Linked DNA regions of Homo sapiens: region 1 is linked to region 2. Evidence: promoter capture Hi-C in human tissues and cell types (Jung and others, 2019). All regions are on one chromosome and are shown on one strand. The core of a region is centred on a gene start or on the middle of the fragment in contact, and the rest is flanking DNA. Distances in the headings are between cores, read along the strand shown.

The links. The method cuts DNA at HindIII sites, captures the fragments that hold promoters and counts their contacts. A contact is called where the count stands out against the background at its distance.
Region 1: a contact is called between a fragment that was not itself captured here and the fragment with the promoter of FLT3 in region 2, in 3 of the 25 tissues and cell types used here (aorta, liver and mesendoderm cells).

What each region holds. Positions count from the first base shown.
Region 1 is chr13:28,286,855-28,292,255 of GRCh38, reverse strand. PAN3 (poly(A) specific ribonuclease subunit PAN3) reads right to left here. Exons shown (of 19, transcript NM_175854.8): 18 at 4,134-4,272. LOC124903140 (a long non-coding RNA gene) reads left to right here and starts at 4,269. Exons shown (of 2, transcript XR_007063735.1): 1 at 4,269-5,401. RefSeq lists enhancers at 2,201-2,700, 2,701-3,202. The HindIII fragment of the contact is 6,716 bases long and covers 1-5,401 here.
Region 2 is chr13:28,098,128-28,103,899 of GRCh38, reverse strand. It overlaps FLT3 (fms related receptor tyrosine kinase 3), which reads left to right and starts at 3,324. Exons shown (of 24, transcript NM_004119.3): 1 at 3,324-3,432. The coding sequence starts at 3,390. RefSeq lists an enhancer at 2,911-3,040 and silencers at 3,151-3,210, 3,331-3,490. The HindIII fragment of the contact is 18,739 bases long and covers 1-5,690 here.

The DNA.
Region 1 (5,401 bases), core at 1,765-4,264, 190 kb before region 2:
TACATTTATATCATTCATCAGTATGCACATAATTTTCGACTCAGACATTTTTACACAAACACTGCCCTATGTTTCTATCCCTTCACGCTTAACGTTTGTTTGTATTATAGTTTACCCAGTTGATGCTCCATAATTTTTCTCCCAGTATCTTCCATTTTTGGCATAATAAATTACAGTGCAATGAACATACTCATCTACTTAATTTTTTTCTTCTGTGGGAAGTACTTTTTCCTTAGGAAAAATACTTAGAAGTATAAATATTAATAATAAAATGTAAAGTATTAAGAAATTGGTTTTTAAAAAATTTTAAAAAAACACAAAAAAGTAAAGTAGAAGTGGTTTTATAGCTTAGTACATAGAACCAAATTGTTTTCCAATCAGACACCATGAATTTATAAGTTTTTATTTTTATTTATTTAATTTTTGGGGATGGAGTTTCGCTCGTTGCCCAGGGTGGAGTGCAATGGCGCAATCTTGGCTCACTGCAACCTCTGCCTCCCGGGTTCAAGCAATTCTCCTGCCTCAACCTCCCGAGTAGCTGGGATTATAGGCACCTGCCACCACGCCCAGCTAATATTTTGTATTTTAAGTAGAGACGGGGTTTCGCCATGTTGGCCAGGCTGGTCTCGAACTCCTGACCTCAGGCGATCCACCCGCCTCGGCCTCCCAAAGTACTGGGATTACAGGTGTGAGCCACCGTGCCCAGCCTAATTTATAAGATTTTAATACTTTTCCAGCAACCCCACAGCAAATGAGCACCTTGCTATTTAAATTTAGATTTTAACTACTATTATCAAAGTTTTTTCATACATTTACTTTTGGTATTTCTGCTTGTGTAAATGCTAGTATATGATCTTTACTCATGACCCTAATGGAATTTGGCAGTAATATTTTAGTGAGGTCTTTGTAAAGCATAAATACTGATCCTTAGTCTATCAACTTGTCTTGTTATGGTTTTCACTTTATTTTTGTTATTTTCAATGTACTTTATTTCATTAATTGATACATAATTCATTAAAATATGTTTACAACTCACTGAAGGCTCAAACATTCAAATCATTTACCAGACAATTTCTGTCATTATTTCTACCAAAATAAGCTTATATAAAATCTTAATTTTGTATAATCAATCTGGCCATCCTTCCCTTTTAATTTATCACACTCTTTTCAAACTTAGAATATTGTCACACTTCAGATTTGGGGTATTATTTACTACTAGCTAGTTCATGATGTGAAACAGAATTTTCTTCAAATTTTCAATTATCCTAATATTCATTAAATGATCTTTGATGAATTTAATATTATCCTAATATTCATTAAATGATCTTTGCTTAAGGCAACTGTCCATGGCTTATTCCATATTACCTACTTGTCAATGTTTGTTCTGGTTCTACGTATTTTTAACTACTGGTACTCTGATACTATGCTCTAAAATCTGACAGAATTATTTTCTACATATTGCTCTCAAGAAAAGGTTTTTCCCCTAACATAAATAAAGGGAAAATAAATATATAACTCATACTGAATTAGTTCAATGATACATATAGTCTTGTGCAGTCTTTTTTCTTTTTTTGATACAGAGTTTTGCTCTTGTTGCCCAGGCTGGAGTACAATGGCACAATCTCGGCTCACTGCAACCTCTGCCTCCTGGGGTTCAAATGATTCTCCTGCCTCAGCCTCCGAAGTAGCTGGGATTACAGGCATGTACCACCACGCCCGGCTAATTTTGTATTTTTAGTAGAGATGGGGTTTCTCCACATTGGCCAGGCTGGTCTCAAACTCCCGACCTCAGGTGATCCGTGCACCTGGGCCTCCCAAAGTGCTGGGATTACAGGCGTGAGACACCGAGCCTGGCCAGTTTTGTGCAGTCTTAATGTAGGTTATTGACAATACTCCTTATAGAGTTTTAAGGAAGTTAAAGGAAGGCAAAGTAGTGCTTAAAAACAAACCGTAACATTTTCCCTGAAAGGTTACCACACTGTACATTAATAGTTCTAAATCATGTGCTACAGTAGATATTTTTTCCTCTAGTACTTATAATTTAGGAAAGTTTAGACCAAGAGTCAGTAAATGTTTTCTATAAAGGGTCAGACGGTAAATGTTTTAGGTTTGGCTTATTGTTTATTTTACAACTCTTTAAAAATGTAAAACTATTCGAGGCTCTCACGCTTTAAAAAAATAGGCCATAGAACGGATTTGGCCTGCAGGCCATGGCTTACCAGCTCCTGGTTTATACATAAACCTATACAGAGACTACATTTACTCCTGGAGACCAGTTCTAAACTTCATAATGCCAAGTAATTCATAAGGGAACTGTCTTCTTTCTTTTCTCTGTAAATTTTGTCTTTCCCAATCTTTTCTTTCTTTTTTTTTTGAGACGGAGTCTCGCTCTATCGGCCAGACTGGAGTGCAGTGGCCCAATCTCGGCTCACTGCAAACTCCGCCTCCCGGGTTCACGCCATTCTCCTGTCTCAGCCTCCCGAGTAGCTGGGACTACTGGTGCCTGTCACCATGCCCGGCTAACTTTTTTAATTTTTTAGTAGGGACGGGGTTTCACCGTGTTAGCCAGGATGGTCTCGATCTCCTGACCTCGTGATCCGCCCGCCGTGGCCTCCCAAAGTGCTGGGATTACAGGCGCGAGCTACTGCGCCTAGCCTTTTCCCAACCTTTTCTAAAACATAATGCTGCTGGGCGTGGTGGCTCACGGCTATTATCCCAACACTTTGGGGGTGGGTGGACTGCTTAATCTCAGGAGTTTGGGACCAGCCTGAGCAACATGGTGAAATCCCGTATCGACCAAAAGGACAAAAATTAGCTGGGTGTGGTGGCGTGTGCCTGTGGTCCCAGCTATTCAGGAGACTGAGGTGGGAAGGAGGACCACTGCAGCCCTGGGGAGTCAAGGCTGCAGTGAGCCATAAGTGCGACTGCACTATAGCCTGGGTGACAGATCAAAACCCCGTTCCAAAAAAAAGCTCACCTCACCTCTCAAATAAATTTATGATCTATTTTTTATCTACTTAATTCATCTAATCATCAAATTCACCATTTATAACAGCTGGACCTGCTAGTAACTGATGTCACTAGTATTGTGCTTTTATTATTTACTACTTGATTATAAAACCTAGAGTTAGGCCGGGTGCGGTGGCTCATGCCTGTAATCCCAGCACTTTGGGAGGCTGAGGCGGGTGGATCACGAGGTCAGGAGATCGAGACCATCCTGGCTAACATGGTGAAATCCTGTCTCTACTAAAAATACAAAAAATTAGCCGGGCATGGTGGTGGGTGCCTGTAGTCCCAGCTACTTGGGAGGCTGAGGCAGGAGAATGGCGTGAACCCGGGAGGCGGAGCTTGCAGTGAGCCTAGATGGCGCCACTGCACTCCAGCCTGGGTGACAGAGACTCCGTCTCAAAAAAAAAAAAAAAAAAAATCTATAGTTAATAATGATTTGATAACACCCAACATAACTCACAATGATTCGGAAGGGGTTCAATTTTTAAAAAATAAACACAAAATTATTTTTTTGCTTTTTACCATTCACTGTTTTAAGCGGCATAACAAAACCACATGTAAATAAAACATTGCATAAAGGAGGGAAGCAGTCATTTTGTGATACTTTATCATAATAAAAAGATCCACAATAAAACATTCTAAAATTATTCATGAAGGCCAGGCGCAGTGGCTCACGCCTATAATCCTACCACTTTGGGAGGCTGAGGCAGGCGAATCACTTGAAGTGAGGAGTTCGAGACCAGCCTGGCCAACATGGTGAAACCTTGTCGCTACTAAAGATTAGCTGCGCATGGTGATGGGTGCCTGTAATCCTAGCTACTCGGGAGGCTCAGGCAGGAGAATCACTTGAACCCGGGAGGCAGAGGTTGCAGTGAGCCAAAATCAGGCCACTGCACTCCAGCCTGGGCAACAGAGCAAGACTCTGTCCTCCACTGCCCCAAAAAATTATTCATGCAAGTATTGTAAAAATCCTCCCATTGTAGAAAATGTTATTAATAAAACGTCTTACAGGCTACTTTAAGAGTACATCCTGATTTCTTAAGTTTCCTAGTATTTGTAGAAGATACAACTCTATACAAATTATAGGCAGAATTATGATCTTAAAAAATCTAGATACAAATTACCTTGTTAAGACAAGAAATTATATGACTGAGGTCAATCCAGGGAGCACCTGCTTCTGTCACCTGATGAAAAAGATGATCCCTAAAGAGTTTCAACAGATAACGGTCTCCAGTCTCTGACCAAGTGGGATCCTTCTGAAACCTGGGGGAAATGAACATTTTACCTCAGTAACTCATGCTGTATGGTCTGTGGCCATATGTCTATTTTTTAGACTCCAAACTAGTTTTACTTTTTCCCAATAAACAAAAAATTGGGAGGGAGTCTGGTACAGTGTTTTTAAAAAATAATCTAACTGAACTAGTAAGTCTATGAATTCCAGTTTTCAGTTAGCAAATGTCAGGGGGAAATCATCCCTTATGCATTCCTATTTTACATTACCTCCTTATTTCAGCCCCTACCATTAGATAAAATGGAAAAGGTAAAAATATCTTTAAATATCTTCTCTTCTCTTCCTCCCACTCTGTAGGTTACAGAATAGAGAAAGGTCAGGTACATCTTCTACTTCACCAATAAGCATAAAATAGAAAAATGTTTAGGAAACAAAAAGGAAGTAAATATCGGTTTCCTACCATTCCATGTGAAAACAAGCTGTGAAGAACCAGATGACCACTGTGAGTTTTCAGTGACCTTAGGAACTTACAGTCTAGTAGGAAACAGACGTTATTCAAATAATCAAAGAAAGCTGTAACTGCATATTTACATAATGCTCCTAAAAGGAATATGATATAAAACGAAGATGAATTTATCTAGGGCCGCGCCTGGCTGATAATCCCTTTTCTGTATCATTTAAAGTCGTTCTGCTTCCCAGATCAAACTGTGATACAATTCCCATTAAGAAAAAATAGGTAAAAACAATGATTACAGAAAATGTATAACATTAAATTTATGTAAAATTATGTGTGAATATAAGTATATAAAGCAATTAAGGAAGGTTTTCCAGAGGAAGTAGTGGCTGCTCTTCCCAGAAGAAGGATGCTCCTTCGTCAGAGATCGGTATTTGCATGGACATTGAAGAAACTTAAGGAAGGTCATGTGTCTGAATGGGTTGGGGGAGAAAAGAGAAGAAAAGACGACAGAATACACGGAGAGGGAGGGTAAGGGCAAGGAAAAGGAACAGAGTGAAGACAAGAACAAAGAATGGGGGATGGGGGGAAGAAAATTAAATAAAAGGCAGATTTGACGCCAGGATGAGAAGTAGGTAGGGATCAGACTACACAGCTTAGGACATGTTTTAAAACTGGGTCTTTATTCTAAGAACCAGAGGAGAAGT
Region 2 (5,772 bases), core at 2,075-4,574:
ATTACTTCACCTTCTGTTAGCCTATACCTCATACTCCAAAATATTTCAGTCTATAAGATTTGCTCCTTCTAGAATTATTTTTTCCACCAATTTCCACGGAAAATCAAGTGTTCCTAGAAACCATTCCTGGCTGGCCGCGGTGACTCACACCTGTAATCCCAGCACTTTGGGAGTCCAAGGAGGGTGGATCACGAGGTCAGGAGTTTGAGACCAGCCTGGCCAAGATGGTGAAACCCTTCTCTACTAAAAATACAAAATTAGCTGGGCGCAGTGGCGGGTGCCTGTAATCCCAGCTACTCAGGTGGCTGAGGCTGGAGAATCGCTTGAACCCGGGAGGCGGAGGTTGTAGTGAGCCTAGATCGTGCCACTGCACTCTAGCCTGGGCGACAGAGCAAGACTCTGTCTCAAAAAAAGAAACCATTCCTAACTTCTCCTCTCTCACCAACCCCCTTTTTCATGAAGATCTCTGCCTTGTGTCCAAGATTCTTGGACAAAGCAGCAGTATCTTTATGATTTTGTATCCTGAATACTGCTGCACTCAAGCTGATGTTCTGCAAATTTGTAATAATCAGTTTCATTTTTTTTTTAGTTTTTCATTTTATTTATTTATTTTTTTGAGACGGAATCTCCCTCTGTCGCCCAGGCTGGAGTGTAGTGGCGCGATCTTGGCTCACTGCAACCTCCGCTCCCCAAGTTTAAGCAATTCTCTGCCTCAGCCTCCTGAGTAGCTGGGATTACAGGCGTATGCCACCACGCCTGGCTAATTTTTTGTATTTTTAGTAGAGACAGGTTTCACCATCTTTGCCAGGCTGGTCTTGAACTCCTGACCTCGTGATCCACCTGCCTTAGCTTCCCAAAGTGCTGGGATTACAGGCATGAGCCACTACGCCCGGCGAAGACCAAGTCTTGCTCTGTTGCCCAGGCTGGAGTGCAGTGGCATGATCTCAGTTCACTGCAACATCTGCTTCCTGGGTTCAAGCAATTCCCCTGCCTCAGCCTCCCAAGTAGCTACGACTACAGTGCCACCATGCCCAGCTAATTTTTGTATTTTTGTTAGAGATGGGGTTTCACCATGTTGGTCAGGCTGGTCTCCAACTCCTGACCTCAAATGATCCACCCGCTTTGGCCTCCCAAAGCGCTGGGATTGCAGGCATGAGCCACAGCGCCCAGCCAATCAGTTTCCTTTAAGACAGTAATTGAGCTTTAAATAGAAGGTAGTGTGTTAGGTCTTGGCCATTGGAAGCTCGCTTTTCTCCCCATAACCAGCCTGTTTCATTGCTTTATCTCCTCATGTTTCACTTATTTCAGGCCATCTTCCTTCACTTCTGTTTCTGACCTAAGGTAGACACAACACTCTTTAAAAAAATTTTTAAACCCCCAGCAGCTACACAAAAACTTAAAAAATTTAAAATTGAGGTAAAATACACATACATAAAATTTACCATCTTAACTTTTTGTTTTTGTTTTTGTTTTTGAGACAGAGTCTCACTCTGTCACCCAGGCTGGAGTGCAGTGGTGTGATCTCAGCTCACTGCAGCCTCTGCCTCCCGGGTTCCAGTGATTCTCCTGCCTCAACCTCCCAGGTAGCTGGGATTACAGGCATGCGCCACTACGCCTGGCTAATTGTTGCATTTTTGTAGAGATGGGGTTTCACCATGTTGGCTAGGCTGGTCTCGAACTGCTGACCTCAGGTGATCTGCCCACCTCGGCCTCCCAAAGTGCTAGGATTACAGGCATGAGCCACCGCACCCAGCCTTAGCCATTTTTAAGTGTACAGTTTAGTAGCGTTAAGTACATTCACATTGTTGTGCAACCAGTCTCCAGAACTCTGCTCATCTTGCAAAACTGAAACTCTGTATCCATTAAACACTGGCTCCCCATTTCCCCCTGCCCCCAGCCCATGGTAACCACCATTTAACTTTCTGTCTTTATGAATTTGTAATGGGATACAGTATTGTATTTTTTGGGACTAGCTTATTTCACTTAGCATAATGTCAAGATTCATCCATATTTTAGCTGTATCAGAATTTCCCTCCTCTTTAAAGCTGAAAAATACTCAGTCGTATGTATATACTGCATTTTTGTTTATCATTCATCTGTTGTGGACATGGGTTACTTCTGCCTTTTGACTACTGTGAATAATGCTGCTTTCAACACGGGTGTACAGACATCTCTTCAAGACCCTGCTTTCAATTCTTTTGGCTACATGGCCAGAAATGGAATTGTTGGACCGTATTTTTTTTAATTTTTTGAGAAACCTCTATAGTGTTTTCCATAGTGGCTGCACCATGGTAGACACTTCTAAAGTTTCTGCCATACCCTAGGGGAAAGAATTATTGTACTGTAGACAACATCTAAGGAAAAGAACTGTATGGCCAAGAGTAAACAGTCAATTTTCATGCTTTATTAGAAAATAATTAAAATAATTAAGAGCGTGGAATTCCTAGAATTGGGAGAGACATTATGAACCATTTGGTCCATCCCTTTCCTTTACGATGAGTAAACAGAGGTTTGTGGAGGTCAAACGGCTAGTTAAGTAAGGGAAGAACCAGAACTGGCATCCAGAGCTTTCCAATCCTCAACTTATTGCAAAGAAAATAATAATAATTTTCAACTCGAAAAATTATGCGATGAAGAACAAGAACTATTGAGCGGATGATTCGCAACATCCTCTGGGATGTATTTTCTGTGTGTTTTGTTTTGAAGGCTGTTTGTTAACCTCCCTAATTGCCTTGGTTGACATTGAAACCCTGCCTGTTTTTCTTGATCCCGCCGCTGACTGGGTCCTGAGCATCCTAGGAGATGGAGGCAGAGACAAAGGAAATCAGTCCACAATTAAGAATGGAATGGTTCTTAATGGAATGCTCGCCTGTGCGCTGGCGGGAGTTGCCAGCGTGCCGAGCGGATTCAGCGCCTTTCTCAGGGCCTCAAAGATCCCAGCGCACTAGGAGGGTGGTTTGTGGCTCCCTGCAGTCCCCACGCCCCGGATCCAAACGACAGAGTTCGGGGACTCACAGGGGCAGCAAGGCGGCAGAGCCGCGGAGCCAGTGCAACTTCTCCGGCGGGACCGCGCCCAATCTTCCCCGCCGCAGTCGGGGAGCCCCGGGGGCCGCCGAGCACAGGCTGCGGACCGCGGCGGGCACGTGGGCTCGGCTGCAGCGCTGCGCCAGGCACCGGCTGCTCGGCTCTGCCCAACCTCTCCGCTCCCGCCTCGGTCCCTGCCTCTGGGGAGAGGGTTCCTCCCCCCTTCCACTTTGCACCAGTCCGAGGGAATTTGCGGTCGGTGACGCGCATCCTTAAGAGAGCCACCTGCAGCGCGAGGCGCGCCGCTCCAGGCGGCATCGCAGGGCTGGGCCGGCGCGGCCTGGGGACCCCGGGCTCCGGAGGCCATGCCGGCGTTGGCGCGCGACGGCGGCCAGCTGCCGCTGCTCGGTAAGGCCCCGCTCGCTCGCTCGCAGCCCCTCGCGGTCCCTCAGCCCCCACCCCGCAGTGTGGACCCGGGCGCGCGCCTCCTCCGGCCCAGCCGCCTCGCTCCTCCCCGCGCTCGCTCCTTCCATTGCCTCCCGCGCCCCTCCCCTCTTTCGCGCCCTCCGGACTCGCCCACTACTTGCCTGCGGCCCCGGCGTTTCCCACCCCGCGTCCTCTTCCCTCTTCTCCGAAGTCTCTCCTCTGGCTCGGGCCGCGGTCCCGAGTGGCGGCCCGGACTTCGCAGACGGCCTCGCCGAGGCGCTGCGCCGGGTCTGGGGCAGCTCGGCCCGCGCGCTCGGGTGCTGGGCCGTCCGTGGGAGTCTGCGGCCGCGAACTCGGCGCCAGGTGGCCAAGGACCTCTCCTGGCCCGGCCCTTGGATACTGTAGACACCTGGGTGTCGTCTTTAACTCTTCTTTTGAGGTTTTGATTTATGGAGGGAACTCTGATGGGAAAATGCGTCCGCGTTCTCCCCTAGAGCGAGTCATCCTCAATAACGATACCCCCCAGCCCCGCCGAATTTTGGTTGGATCAACGAATAGTTTACCTAGGAAATATTATGCAAACAGATTTACATATTAAAATACTAGCTGTCCCTTTCTTCTAGTCTCTTCTTATCCTGGCATAAACCCCAAAGGGGTTTTCAAGGACTCCGAGGACTGTCCCCAAAGAATCTGCTGGGTAGCATAGTTGTTATTGAAAAAAAAAATCTTCCCATCGGTTCGCGTCAGCTTTCTATTTGGAAAGATGAGAGGACTGAATCGAATTTGGGTTGAAGGCGACAGAGTTCTGGGTGCCCGGCAGCTCCGGTCCCTGTCCTAGGTCTGCAACCTTGGGACTGACACTCACCTCCCCCGGCCTCCGCGTCCTCATCTGTGCAGTGAGGGAGTCCGTCCGAGTCCCCTTCAGCTCTGAAATGCTAGGACTTGAAGTCTCTGTGGTAAATAGAGAAAATGCTTGCAATATAGAAGTGCAGGAATTATATCCAATAGCTTTTGTTACAAATAATTCTGAAATATAAAAAGTAAAAAATGGAAATCGGGGGAAAAGAGTTGAAAAACAAAGACATTTTAGTTCTTAAATAGTTATCTTTACTAGTTAGTAAATCTGTAATTTCAAATGTGTAGTACAATATGTTTTCCAGATTCCGTTAATACAAAATGTTAGCTTTCTATTATGTATGATATTAAGTAGTAAGTGCATTTTTCAGAAGCATAATGGGCTTTCTAAAGGTATAAGCATCAATACTTGCAACGATATTTAAGCTGCATGGAATTCTTTTCTATTTAGGAAAGAATTCAGAAATTTCTATGTCTCTCTCTCCAGATATTTCTAAATGAAGTATAATTGGCACACAGTAAATATGCACACATCTTAAGAGTACAATTTCATTAGTTTTCACATATGTACGTGCCCAAATAACCACGATCAGACTGAGATATAGAGCAATTCTAGCTCCACCCTCTCTGTCAGTACCCCCTCCCCAGGTAGCCACTATTCTGACTTCTGATGCCATGGATTGCTTTTGCCTATGTTTGAACTTCATGTAAACCAAACCATCATCGTGTGCTCTTTTATGTCCACCTTCTTTTACTCAACATTATAATAATAAGATTCAACCTTGTTCTCTGTAGCAGTGTTTTTTTTTTTAATTGCTGGTACCATTCCGTGGTATGAATAGATCTTATAATTTATTTTATCCATTATGTTCACGAAGCACATGGAAGTTGTTCCAATTTTGTGTAATTATGCATAGCACTGCTGTGAACATTGTTTTATATATGGTGGACATAAACACCAGTATAAAGGATTATGCCCACAAGTAGAATTCCTGGATCATAGGGAAGGGATATGTTCAGGTTTGGTAGATACCGTCAAACGGTTTTCCACAGTGGTTACACCAATTTCCACTCCCACTAGCAGTGTATGGCAGTTCCAGTTCCTCACATCTTTGCCAATACTTTGTATTATGGATTTTCTTGAATAAAGAAGGATAAAGTGAGAAGCTTAAACATGAGAACTTTAAAATGGTTAATAGCCTTAAATTCTTTGAATTAGAACATGGGATCCCAATTTCCCTTATATTGTAAACACTACTTTTTTTTTTTTTTTTTTTTTTGAGACGGAGTCTTGCTCTGTCACCCAGGCTGGAGTGTAGTGGCGCGATCTCAGCTCACTGCAACCTCCGCCTCCCAGGTTCAAGCGATTCTCCTGCCTCAGCCTCCTGAGTAGCTGGGATTACAGGTGCGTGCCACCGCACCCAGCTAATTTTTGTATTTTTAGTAGAGACGAGGTTTCACCATGTT